Regions from separate parts of the Homo sapiens genome. Here all the other regions are linked to region 3. Evidence: promoter capture Hi-C in 16 types of primary human blood cells and fetal thymus (Javierre and others, 2016). All regions are on one chromosome and are shown on one strand. The core of a region is centred on a gene start or on the middle of the fragment in contact, and the rest is flanking DNA. Distances in the headings are between cores, read along the strand shown.

Region 1 (3,883 bases), core at 1,286-3,785, 49 kb before region 3:
CTAATTTTTTATTTTTGTGGAGGTGGAGTCTCATTGTTACCCAGGCTGGTCTTGAACTCCTGGGCTCAATCGATCCTCCCACCTTGGCCTCCCAAACTGCTGAGATTGCAGTACAGGCCACTGTGCCCAGTCTGTCTGCACATTTTAATTGATTATATAGGCCTTTCTTTTGTTGTACTCTTTCAGGCCTGCAACTGTTTGCTTTGAGTCTTTGGTGTAGTGGGAAACCCTGTGATGCAATTAGAGTTATTCTCATTTTTGCTACATAGTATCATGGCCATTTGCTACTGTTCTAAGCAGTGGGTAACTGTTTTTGATAGTTTCCATATTGTGGTTTAGACACAGAAATTTACAAAATATTTTGTTCATTTCACTAGCTCTACAAGTAAAAACAAAATAACAAATGGCAACAATTTACCAAGTGTTAACTATTTATAAATATTTGAACTTCATTCTTATTTATCCCAATATTATAAATTTACATCTGCTTTTCCACAGATAGATGGTACTGGGGAAAGAAAATTGACTTTGGGCTGGGTGCAGTGGCTCAGGCCTATAATCACAGCACTTTGGGAGGCCGAGGCGGGTGGATCACTTGAGGCCAGTAGTTAGAGATCAGCCTGGCCAACATGGCGAAACCCCGTCTACTAAAAATACAAAAATTAGTTGGCCCTGGTGGCACGTGGCTATAATCCCAGCTACTTGGGAAGCCAAGGCACGAGAATCGCTTGAACCCAGGAGGTGGAGGTTGCAGTGAGCAGAGATCATGCTACTGCACTCCAGCCTGGGTGACAGAGTGAGACTCTATCTCAAAAAAAAAAAAAAAAAAAAACCAAAAAAAAAAGGGAAAAAAATAGAAAATTGACTTCGGTGGTGTCAGATAGGACTAGATTCAATTCTAGCTTTGTCAGTTAATAGTGGTATGACCTTAGACCCTTAATTATCTTTCTCAAGCTTCATTTATGAATGGGAATCAGTGTTAACTTGGAATCACCTTTTTCTCATACATTCAGTCCCATTAGTTCATGTTGTCAATTTACTTTCAAAATATGCCCACTACTTTTTATCACACCACTCTTATTTCACAGCTCTTACAGAATCTGAAATTACCTTGTTTGTACATTTATTTACTTGTTTAAAGTTTCTTCTTTTATGTAAACTCCATGTCTCTTTTTGTGGAAGTCAGTCTTGGTTGCCCTTCCAAAAACTACCTTCTTCCATTCCTCCTTGCTAAGACAGCCTCCTTTATCTGCCACTGTTTAAAGGGTATTTGTGTGCTCAGTCCCCGGGGACAAATAAATGCAACCTTGTTTCCCTTTGCCAGATACTTGCTTTTTCAGTTTCCTTCATGATTGGACCTGATTCTGACCAATGGGACATAAAGAGGCAAGTCAGCTGAGGACTTTCTGGGAATGATTTTCTTCTCTGATAAAAAGAGATTACCCCGTTGAGGAAGTCCCTTTTGTTTCACCCCTCTCCCTTTGCTTTCTGCCTTTGGAAATGTTCTTTGAAGATATGATGCCTAGAGCCAACTTCAGTCCTTGAGGGTCTAATGCAAAGAGAATCATAAAGATGCCAGTTCAGTGCAGTGGTCTGATATTGTGAAGCTATCGACCTAACCTTAAAACCAACCTATCTCCACATTTATTAATTAAATAATAAATTAAAGAAACTAAATAAATATTAATGAATAAAGGAAACAGTAAATGTCCTTATAATGTAAGCCAATGCAAGCAGGCTTTATCCCTAGAGACAAGAACAATACCTGGCACATAGTAGGTGCTTAATATGTAATTTTTGTTTAATATTGAACCTTGTGATTGATTGGATATGGGTTGTGAGGTAAAGTAAGGAATGGAGGTTATTTTGTAGGTTTCTCATTTATTTTATTTATCTATCTATCTATCTATTTATTTATTTTTGAGACAGAGTCTCACTCTGTTTCCCAGGCTAGAGTGCAGTGGCACGATCTTGGCTCACTGCAACCTCTGCCTCCCAGGTTCAAGTGATTCTCCTGCCTCAGCCTCCCAGGTAGCTGGGATTACAGATATGTGCTACCACGCCTGGTTAATTTTTGTATTTTTAGTAGAGACCGGGTTTCACCATGTTGGCCAGGCAGGTCTCGAAATCTTGACTTCAAGCTATCCGCCCACCTCGGCCTCCCAAAGTGCTGGGATTACAGATGTGAACCACTGCGACCAGCAAAGGTTTCTCATTTAAATAACCACGTGAATCGTGGTGCTTTTCACTGAGATCAAAATATTGAAGAAAGAAGTGGGCGGGAAGTAAGAAAAGGTCAGTTTTTAACACATTTTGAGGTTTAAGTGTCGGTAGTACATATGCTTAGAGATGTCCATTAGGCAGACATACTTGCAGATATGGAGAGGGGAGAGAGAGACAGATTTTGAACCTTCAGTATTAAAATGGTAATTAAACTACGGGAATGGTAAGACCTCTCAGGGGGAATGTGTAGAGCTAGGAAAGTAGTGCTTTTCTTTCTTTTTTTTTTTTTTTCTTTTTGATACGGAGTCTCACTCTGTCACCCAGGCTGGAGTGCAGTGGTGAAATCTCGGCTCACTGCAACCTCTGCTACCTGGGTTCAAGCAATTCTCCTGCCTCAGCCTCCGAAGTAGCTGGGATTACAGGTGCTTGCCATCGTGCCCAGCTAATTTTTGAATTTTTAATGTAGACAAGGTTTCACCATGTTGGCCAGGCTGGTCTGGAACTCCTGACCTCATGATCCACCCGCCTTGGCCTCCCAAAGTGCTGGGATTACAGGCGTGAGCCACCGTTCCCGGCTGAACGTGGTGGTATTAATAGAGAACCCTGAAGTAGATAGAGAACCTGGCCTTAGTAAGGAATTGAAAGAATGATCACATTTAAAGTGGAGAAAATGAGCTTATAAAAGGAGTCTGGGGCTGGGCACAGTGGCTCACGCCTGTAATTGCAGCACTTTGGGAGCCCAAGGCAGGCGGATCACCTGAGGTCAGGAGATCGAGACCAGCCTGAGCAACATGGAGAAACCCCATCTCTACTAAAAATACAAAATTAGCCGGGCATGGTGGCGCATGCTTGTAATCCCAGCTACTTGGGAGGCTGAGACAGGAGAAGCACTTGAACCCAGGAGGCTGAGGTTGCGCCATTGCACTCCAGCCTGGGCAACAACAGTGAGACTCCATCTCAAAAAAAAAAAAAAAAAAGTGGCTGGGCATGGTGGCTCATGCCTGTAATCCCAGCACTTTGGAAGGCCGAGACAGGTGGATCGCAAGATCAGGAGATCAAGACCATCCTGACCAACATGTGAAACCCCGTCTCTACTAAAAAAATACAAAAATTAGCCAGGCATGGTGGCGTGCACTTGTAGTCCCTGCTACTCAGGAGGCTGAGTCAGGAGAATTGCTTGAACCCAGGAGGCGGAGGTTGCAGTGAACCGAGATTGTGCCACTGCACTCCAGCCTGGGTAACAGAGCGAGACTGTCTCAAAAAAAAAAAAAAAAAAAAAAAATGGAGTCTGAGCCGGTCGCAATAATCCTAGCACTTTGGGAGGCCAAGGCAGGTGGATCACCTGAGGTCAGGAGTTCAAGACCAGCCTGGCCAACATGCTGAAACCCCATCTCTACTAAAGCTGGGCATGATGGCAGGTGCCTGTAATCCCAGCTACTCAAGAGGCTGAGACTGAAGAATCACTTGAACCTGGGAGACAGTGGTTGCAGTGACCTGAGATCGCACCACTGCACTCCAGCCTGGGCGGCTAAGCGAGACTCCGTTTCAAAAATAAATAAACAAATAAACAAAAGGAGTCTGAGAAAGAATGATCAAAGAGGAAGAACTGGGGGTTTTACGATCCAAGTAAAGAGTTTCAAGCGAGTACAGTGTCAAATGC
Region 2 (3,778 bases), core at 846-3,345, 42 kb after region 3:
ATTAAATTTAGAAAATCATTAAAGTATTAATAATGTCAACATGAGGACACTCCTCTAATCTATTGGTCTTCCCTGGACATGAAGGAGGCGGTGGATTTTAGCTTGGTGTATTTGTATCACTTTCCCCACTTTACTGCATGTTGCGAACCTTTATCTTTTTTGCGTGCGTGTGACAGAGTCTCACCCTGTCGCCCAGGCTGGAGTGCAGTGGCATAATCTCGGCTCACTGCAACCTCTGCCTCCTGGGTTCAAGCAATTCTTTGCCTCAGCCTCCCGAATAACTAGGATTACAGCTGTGCACCACCATGCCCAGCTAATTTTTGTATTTTTAGTAGAGACAGGGTTTCACCATCTTGGCCAGGCTGATCTTGAACTCCTGACCTCAGGTGATCCGCCCGCCTTGGCCTCCCAAAGTGCTGGCATTACAGGCGTGAGCCACCACACCCAGTCTATTTTTTAACAGCATCACTTGTTTCTTTTCTGTCCTTTCTTTCTTTACATACCCCTTATACGAATAAATTATCTTGTAAAAAGACAAAGGAAAAGTCTGCCGGTACTGCTCACTTCACCCCAAACCCAGTCCTCTCCCCAAAGAAACCCCTGTTAACAATTTGGGGGTGTAACCAACTATTTCTTACCTGTTTGCATAGAGGTGTGTGTGTGTGTGTGTGTGTGCACATCACATTGTTTTGTGTGACTTTTTAAGAGATAAATGGTGCCATGTTGTGCTTTTTATTCTTAACTTGCTTTTTTTTTCTTTTTAAATTTATTTCATTATTTTATTTTTTGAGATGGAGTCTTGCTCTGTCGCCCAGGCTGCAATGGCACAGTATAGGCTTACTACAACCTCTGCCTCCTGGGTTCAAGCGATTCTCCTGCCTCAGCCTCCCTAGTAGCTGGGACTATAGGCGTGTACCACCATACCTGGCTAATTTTTGTATTTTTAATAGAGACAAGGTTTCACCATGTTGGCCAGGCAGGTCTCAAACTCCTGACTTCGTGATCTGCTTGCCTTGGCCTCCCAAAGTGCCGGGATTACAGGCATAAGTCAACATCCTGGCCTTTTTTTTTTTTTTCTTTTTTAGAACAGTCTATGCCTTGTGGAGATCTTTACCTGGCAGTATGCTTAAATCTAATTCATTCTATTTAACTCTTACATAGCATTCCATGCATAATGACTTGTACTGTTTTCTCTTGACCTCATCTGTGCTTTTGAAATGGTTTAATGGCATACAAGTCAACATTTAACCATATTTGTATTTATGGGGCAGGGAGAGACAGGTGCAAGCTTTCTGGCTGGCTGGAGTGTTACTAAAAACATAGGAGAAGAAGGAAAGGTGAGACACGCCCACGCCAGTACTGTGAGCCCAAGTGAGAGGCCTGGGGCAGGTACAGTGTTATCAGTAGATTCGTTCCCTCTCTGCCTCTGAATATTTGAGCATTTACCTTTTTCTTGAGCCCAGCTGTTCTCCAGACATTTATTCCTTATATATGAGATAACAATAACATCCTCCACAGGGTGCCATGGGGATTAAACTAGAAAATGCACAGGAGAAGACATCAAGCCCAGGCATACTGCGACATGTTCCGTTATGAATTGTGCCTGTGCTGACCCTTTTCCCTCTCCCTCTCAAATCATGTATTGCTTTTTAAATTTTATTTGAGCTCGTTTGCTCTGAAGGACTATCCCTCTCACTTCAGATATTAGGTTGCAAGGCTCAAAGCAGGGTGGTTAATAAATGGAGCTATGGAGGTCATCATGAGATGTTCTGGTGCAGGATTTTGCCTGAAAGCATTGGAAACTGACTGAGAGCTGGACTCAAGTCCTGATGTGGACACTTACTAGCGGTGTGACTTGGGTAATGTTTTGTCATCTGGAAAATAAGCGTAATCCTAATAGTAATACTTAAGTCTGTGGGGTGTGGTCAGATATAAATGAGATAATGTATGAAAAGAACTTAGTATCGTTTCTGGTATACAGGAAGGTCAGCTGCTGTCATTGTTATTTAGAAAGGTTGCACCATCTCCACTTCTGTTTTCTGGCTATAAAGTATCACTGTCTAGCTTCCTCAGAAGTGACAATAAAAACAGGCTTAATCTCAGAGCACAGCTGTTTGTTGTTCCATTAGTCCATCATTATTTTTTAATTGTTGTTTTTTATAGTCAGGGTCTCATTCTATTGCCCAGGCTGTAGTGCAATGGTGCAATTATAGCTCACTACAGCCTTAAACTCCTGGGCTCAAGTGATCCTCCTGTCTCACCCTCCCAAGGAGTTGGGACTAACTACGGGCATGCACCACCACTCCCAGCTCTAATTTTTAAAAAATTTTTGTAGATATAGGATCTTGTGTTGCCCAGACTGGTCTCATACTCCTGGGCTCAAGCAATCCTCCCACCTCAGCCTCCCAAAGTGCTGGGATTACAGGTGTGAGCCAGCACTAATTTCTTTTTTAAGTATTCCGAGTGACCACTGCATGTGTAATACCTTGCTGGGCACTGTGCGAAATATAAAGGAAGTGCGAAACAGGGCTCTTGCCCTCAAAGTGCTTACAACTTTTAAATTTAATCTCCTTAACACTGGAGAGAACACGGCGTAGTATTGTGAACGTATGTGCCATGGCTATTTTTCTTTAAACTTCTGCTACTTAAAAAAAATAGATGATAGATAGATAGATAGACAGACAGACAGACAGACAGATAGATAGATAGATAGATGGAGTCTCGCTATGTTGACTAGGCTGGTCTCGAACTCCTGGCCTCAATTGATCCTCCCATCTCAGCCTCCTGAAGGGCTAGGATTACAGGCATGCACCACTGCGCCTGGCCTTCTGTTACTTTCAGAGGCATCCATAATTCTTGGACACCTGCTCATATGTTCTGTGTCTAGCTTCAGAATTATTGTAGAAGCTTGCCTGAACGTCACCTATAGAACCTGAGCCATTAGATCATCTATCCCTAAACGCTAATGCTGGGCTGATTTCCTGGCTGGGGGTGGCTCTCATTTCCTCCAGAGGGCCTGACAGAAGGAGGACAAGAGCTGATTGGGAGGAGCTGCCCTCAGGGCCACCCAACGCTTGCTTTCACAGTAACCTGCAGATAGTCCCTTGTTCTGGACACAACAGGAGTGGATATTTAGCAAGCAGATGAAATCCAAAGAGCAGAAACTGTCTGAAAGGGCCTGAGGATGCTGTGTGAAGGGAATGAAGCAACCTCATTTTTGCGGATAAATTCCCCGGAAATAAACCTATAGTATTTACAAAATGTCCACCTTGTCCTTCTCAGCACAGTAAGCTTTCTCTGACCCACAGAACCCATTTTCTGTTTGGATATGAACTCATTGCAGCCTGCCCAACATGAAATTCCAACTGGACATAAAAGGGCACTTCAGCTGTCAAGCCACGTGTGGATTTCGGTTTAAGAATCAGCCCAGGCAGCAGATGCTCCAAGTGCTTGGGGAGTGGCACGCCTATTCCTGATACAGAAGTCAGGCACCCTTTGTCTTGATCCCCCACTTAAATCAGGGATAGGCAATTCTGAATTTTTAAAAAGGCGCTATGTTAAATCCTTCTTATGAGAAAAAAATATCACTTATAATGTAGAAAGTTGAGGTTTCTCAGAGAGCTCTCCCTTTTACTGCTGAAGGGGCTTCTCAGCAGGCAAAGATATCTGCTCAGTAACTTATACTTCTGTGAAGAAGAGATTCCTAAGTGTAAGATGTATGACTTGTCGTTTTGGGGTTAAGTACAATCCCAAACACTCTGTCTCCACCACCTTTTTT
Region 3 (3,889 bases), core at 581-3,080:
CCGGACATCTGTACTGCAGCTGAGGCAAGAAGCCACACCCTTCTGCAGTCTGTCTGCAGAATCCATCAATACTAGGAGTTTAGACAAGGTCTGCCTTCTGCATTGCTGCATTGCTGTATTTGCTGTGCCTGGTGCTAGCCTGTACTGTCTGCTACATTATTTAACAGAGCAAGCTCTATTTCCAGCAGCTGCCTACATGATCTCATTGTGCTGTTTTGCCAGTTTTCCTCCTCTGACCCCGCCCGGGACCATGTGCCTGAATTGAAATGAATTAATTAAGATGCACTGGAACAAAAGACAACGGGATGCGGAGTATAATTCTTCTTTGTCTGTAGCAATTTCATTACTTTTTTTTTTAAAAAAAAAGGTTTTTCCAGATCTTCTCCACTGTAAAAGCTGAAAAATTATCCGTATCTTAACACACACACACACAAAAGTTCCTAAGTTAGAAACAAGCATCACATGAAAAGGTACCAAAGAATAAAAGCCCAGTGGAAGGATAATGAAATATTTATTTAAAACAACAAAATAGTATTTTCATCCTGAGATTCTCTACCCATCACATAATATTCATATTCTTTGCATCCAATAGAGGTTTTCTTCTCTGTGGTCTTTAGGGCTACCACTTTCATTGTCTATTCGCTGATGTGGTGGGGGCGGGGCGGGGGGGCGGCGGGGAAGGGCGTTTCCCTGGGTCCTGACCATCAGGGTACCCTGGGGCTCACAAAGTGGGCTTTCTCCCTCGCTGAACGTGCAGTCCAGACAGACAGACAGACACACACACACACACACACACACTTCAGTCGGTCAGGGCAGGGCGTCCCACAGACACACACACACACACACACACACACACACACACACTTCAGTCGGTCAGGGCAGGGCGTCCCCAGACCAGACATTAAAGAGCTTGTGAAGTGAATTATGATTTTGCTCAAGAAAAAAAAAAGTCATCTAACTTATAATAGTGAAGAAAACCCTTTTGGAGCCTACAGTTCCGCAATGATGAAAGGTTTTTTTGTTTTTTTTTCAGTCAGCTCCTGACAGAAGAGGTTCAGTGAGGGCGAACCCCGCCCAGTGGCTCCAACGCCATAGAAGCCAGAAACAAACAACCCCGCCCCTGCGCCGCCCTGACACCCGCTGCCGGGGGCTCCGGCAGAAACTCACCATGTTTTCCCGGGAATGTGTGGGTATCTTTCCAAAACGCCAAAGACCGCGGAGGGTCTTCCCACGCTAACCCTAGGCTGCGCTTTGTTCCCGTTCCCCCTCCCACGTCCCCCAGCTCGCCCAACGCCCCCGCTCTTTTTGGGTGCCTCCTCCTCTCCCGGTCCCCAGAGAACAACGCGAGACAGAAAGTGGCCCCTCAGCATCAGCGAAACCGTGCGCACAGACACGGGGCCCAGCCGGGACGCCCCAGACCCCTCGGTCGCGGCAGACGGGCTGCCCGCGGCCCCCGAAAGTCTCTCGGATAACACAGGCGCCTAGGCGCCGCCTTTGTTCCTCCCCAGCGCTCTGCTGCGCCCTGGGCGCAGTACTGGCCCGGTTCCTGCACCCGCACTGCGGCGGCGGCGGGGCTTGAGGATTTGGGGCTAAGCTAAACCTCACAAAACATACCACCACCCTCGCCCAGAGAGCTTACGAAAGAAAAGAGCTTAAAGGTTTTCCAAGTAGAGCCTGGGGGCGCTGACTCCACCCAACGGCCACAAAGAGCCGAAGCCGATTCTCACCATGGTTGCTGCTTCGCGACTGCCGAGCTGATGGCGGAGACGAAGAGGAGAGGTTGTTGCTTCTTACAGCGCGACTCTTAGGCGGTCGATGTAAGAGAACCTGCGGCACATAGGCGGATGCGGCTCCCTATATACAACTCGGTCACCATGGGGATGGGCCGGGGCCTTTTCCTGTTGGTCCAGACCCCCAATCTGCCCAGAGAAGCCATGACAGGAGACTGGTGATTGGTGCAAGCGACGTGGGATGAGGTAATCTCTCCCCCACCCCTTTTTCTCTAGCATCCGTAGACTGTTTGCATCCTTTAGACAAAGAGACCGTGCAGAAGCAGTCGGCCGAGCATCCATTATGGGGCGGGGTTGGGGAGGGGCGGAAGGAGAAGAAAGGGGACTGGGGTTAGAAGACTTTCTGTTGCTTAAACCTCAAACTGCAGTTAAAATTATCTATGTGAGGTTTTTTCCCCCTACCCTTAATAACAATTTATGTTTAGATTAAATATTTAAAGGAAAATGACTGCCAGCCCCTCCCTCGTAGTATATTAAACTCGACTACATTTTGTTAGGGTTCAACATCTCTAATTGCTTTAAACGTAAAGTGGGAGGGAAAATCGGCATGATGCTCGAAATGGCCTGGGTATATGTGATTTTTTTAATTTAAAAAAAGATTTAGCCATACGGTCATTCCAAATGGTTTCTCAGGTTCAACTAACTTATTTTCAGAGCTTCTTCTGCAGGCACACGCACACCCGAATAGCTAAACAAAACTGGAAGATGGAAAGAATAACCATATTAAATAAAGAAGCGAACAAATAGTTCTAACATGGCAATAATCAAGAGCAAGTGAACGTAGAGTAGTTATAATGGTTTACTAGAGGTATTCTTTTATGAGAAGTCTATGTAACACATTTTGTATGGTACATTGTCCTTTGGAATGAATCATCTTTCCTGATAGAAAATTGGGAAAATACAAGGAGAAATAATTGAGCTCAGAAGTTAGTACTACATGTGTGCAGTTACATATCTGAATTGGACTTTTGTCTGGAAAGTAACAAGCAAAATAATAGTAATAACCAATACACCAAATTAAAAAGAAGAAGAGAATAATATAATGTAAAAAGAATTTTGCAATGTCGCCTCCATCCACAGACAACTGTGAAACATCAGCTCAATAAACGCATTTCCTTTTTATGTAGTTCTTATGTCAATTTGGTAAATATCCTCCTGCGAGTGGGCTTCTAACTGTGGGAATTTTAGCCGGCCTCACACCCTTGCTGTTCAGCTAGAGACTCTGGTGGTTGCTCAGTTGTCCCTTGGGACAAAAAGGCTTTGCTTTCACCCCTAGGAAATAAATTGGAGTAAAATTATCTTGATATTTAGGAAGCCTCCATTCTCAGCAACGATCCGGAGTAAGTCACTGGACTTCGTACCACTGGATGTTGGTGATGAAATTTCAGAGGTAAATAAGTTTGGCCACTAAAGTTGAAAATTTATTTTTTACAAATAATTTTTCCTTTTGGTTTTCAGAGACAAATTTTCAGGGTCTGCAGCACTACTCACACAGTGCTCTGCGGAACCCATTCATTCCTGCTAGGCTGGCAGGCTAAGAAGGGCGTGGGAGGGAGGGACTTGAGAATACAGCTGCTGCAGGTTGTGGTGTGACAATGGCGACCACAGATTTTTCTAGCCTGCCATCCACAGTTCTGCTTTACTTGATCAATTTTGCTTCAGTAATATTCTCTGGAAAAAAAATAATATCCAAAATGCAAAAATCATTTTATCTACTTATTGTATATTTCCTAGGAAAAAATAATCCTCAACATCATCTTATCTCCACTTCTTTAGCAAAAAAAAAAAAAAAGTATATTTCAGAAGAGACAGGAGGATTAGGTATTTGAATGCTTCTTTCAGAACCCAGAAATATATTTAACAAAAATAAGAATTAAATGGCATAAGGAAGCATAAGGATTAATAAGTAGCTCATTCAAAATACTTTCACAATTTTAATAATAAAATATATCAGACACTATTGGACTATAGTAACATGTACAAGTCTTTTTGGAATGAGAAGCAGAGTTTGAACATTATTTTCTTTACAATATAAAAAGATTAATTAAGAAATATGTCACTTATCCAATAGTCTCAGTTCTTTATGCAATTTCCAAAGG

What was found. Contacts are between HindIII fragments. The CHiCAGO score rates a contact against its expected background, and 5 or more counts as called.
Region 1: a contact is called between a fragment that was not itself captured here and the fragment with the promoter of TUBA1A in region 3, in 1 of 17 cell types (erythroblasts). The highest score is 5.2, in erythroblasts.
Region 2: a contact is called between a fragment that was not itself captured here and the fragment with the promoter of TUBA1A in region 3, in 2 of 17 cell types (M2 macrophages and monocytes). The highest score is 5.6, in M2 macrophages.

The regions. Positions count from the first base shown.
Region 1 is chr12:49,137,426-49,141,308 of GRCh38, forward strand. The region is part of intron 1 of TUBA1B-AS1 (TUBA1B antisense RNA 1); the gene reads left to right. Among named protein-coding and RNA genes, the nearest start is that of TUBA1B-AS1, 7.8 kb to the left of the region's middle. The HindIII fragment of the contact is 3,167 bases long and covers 953-3,883 here.
Region 2 is chr12:49,229,023-49,232,800 of GRCh38, forward strand. It overlaps a transcript of TUBA1C not described here. Among named protein-coding and RNA genes, the nearest start is that of TUBA1C, 34 kb to the right of the region's middle. The HindIII fragment of the contact is 1,619 bases long and covers 1,287-2,905 here.
Region 3 is chr12:49,187,250-49,191,138 of GRCh38, forward strand. It overlaps TUBA1A (tubulin alpha 1a), which reads right to left and starts at 1,831. Exons shown (of 4, transcript NM_006009.4): 1 at 1,728-1,831. The coding sequence starts at 1,730. RefSeq lists enhancers at 1,510-2,101, 1,600-1,719. The HindIII fragment of the contact is 8,438 bases long and covers 1-3,889 here.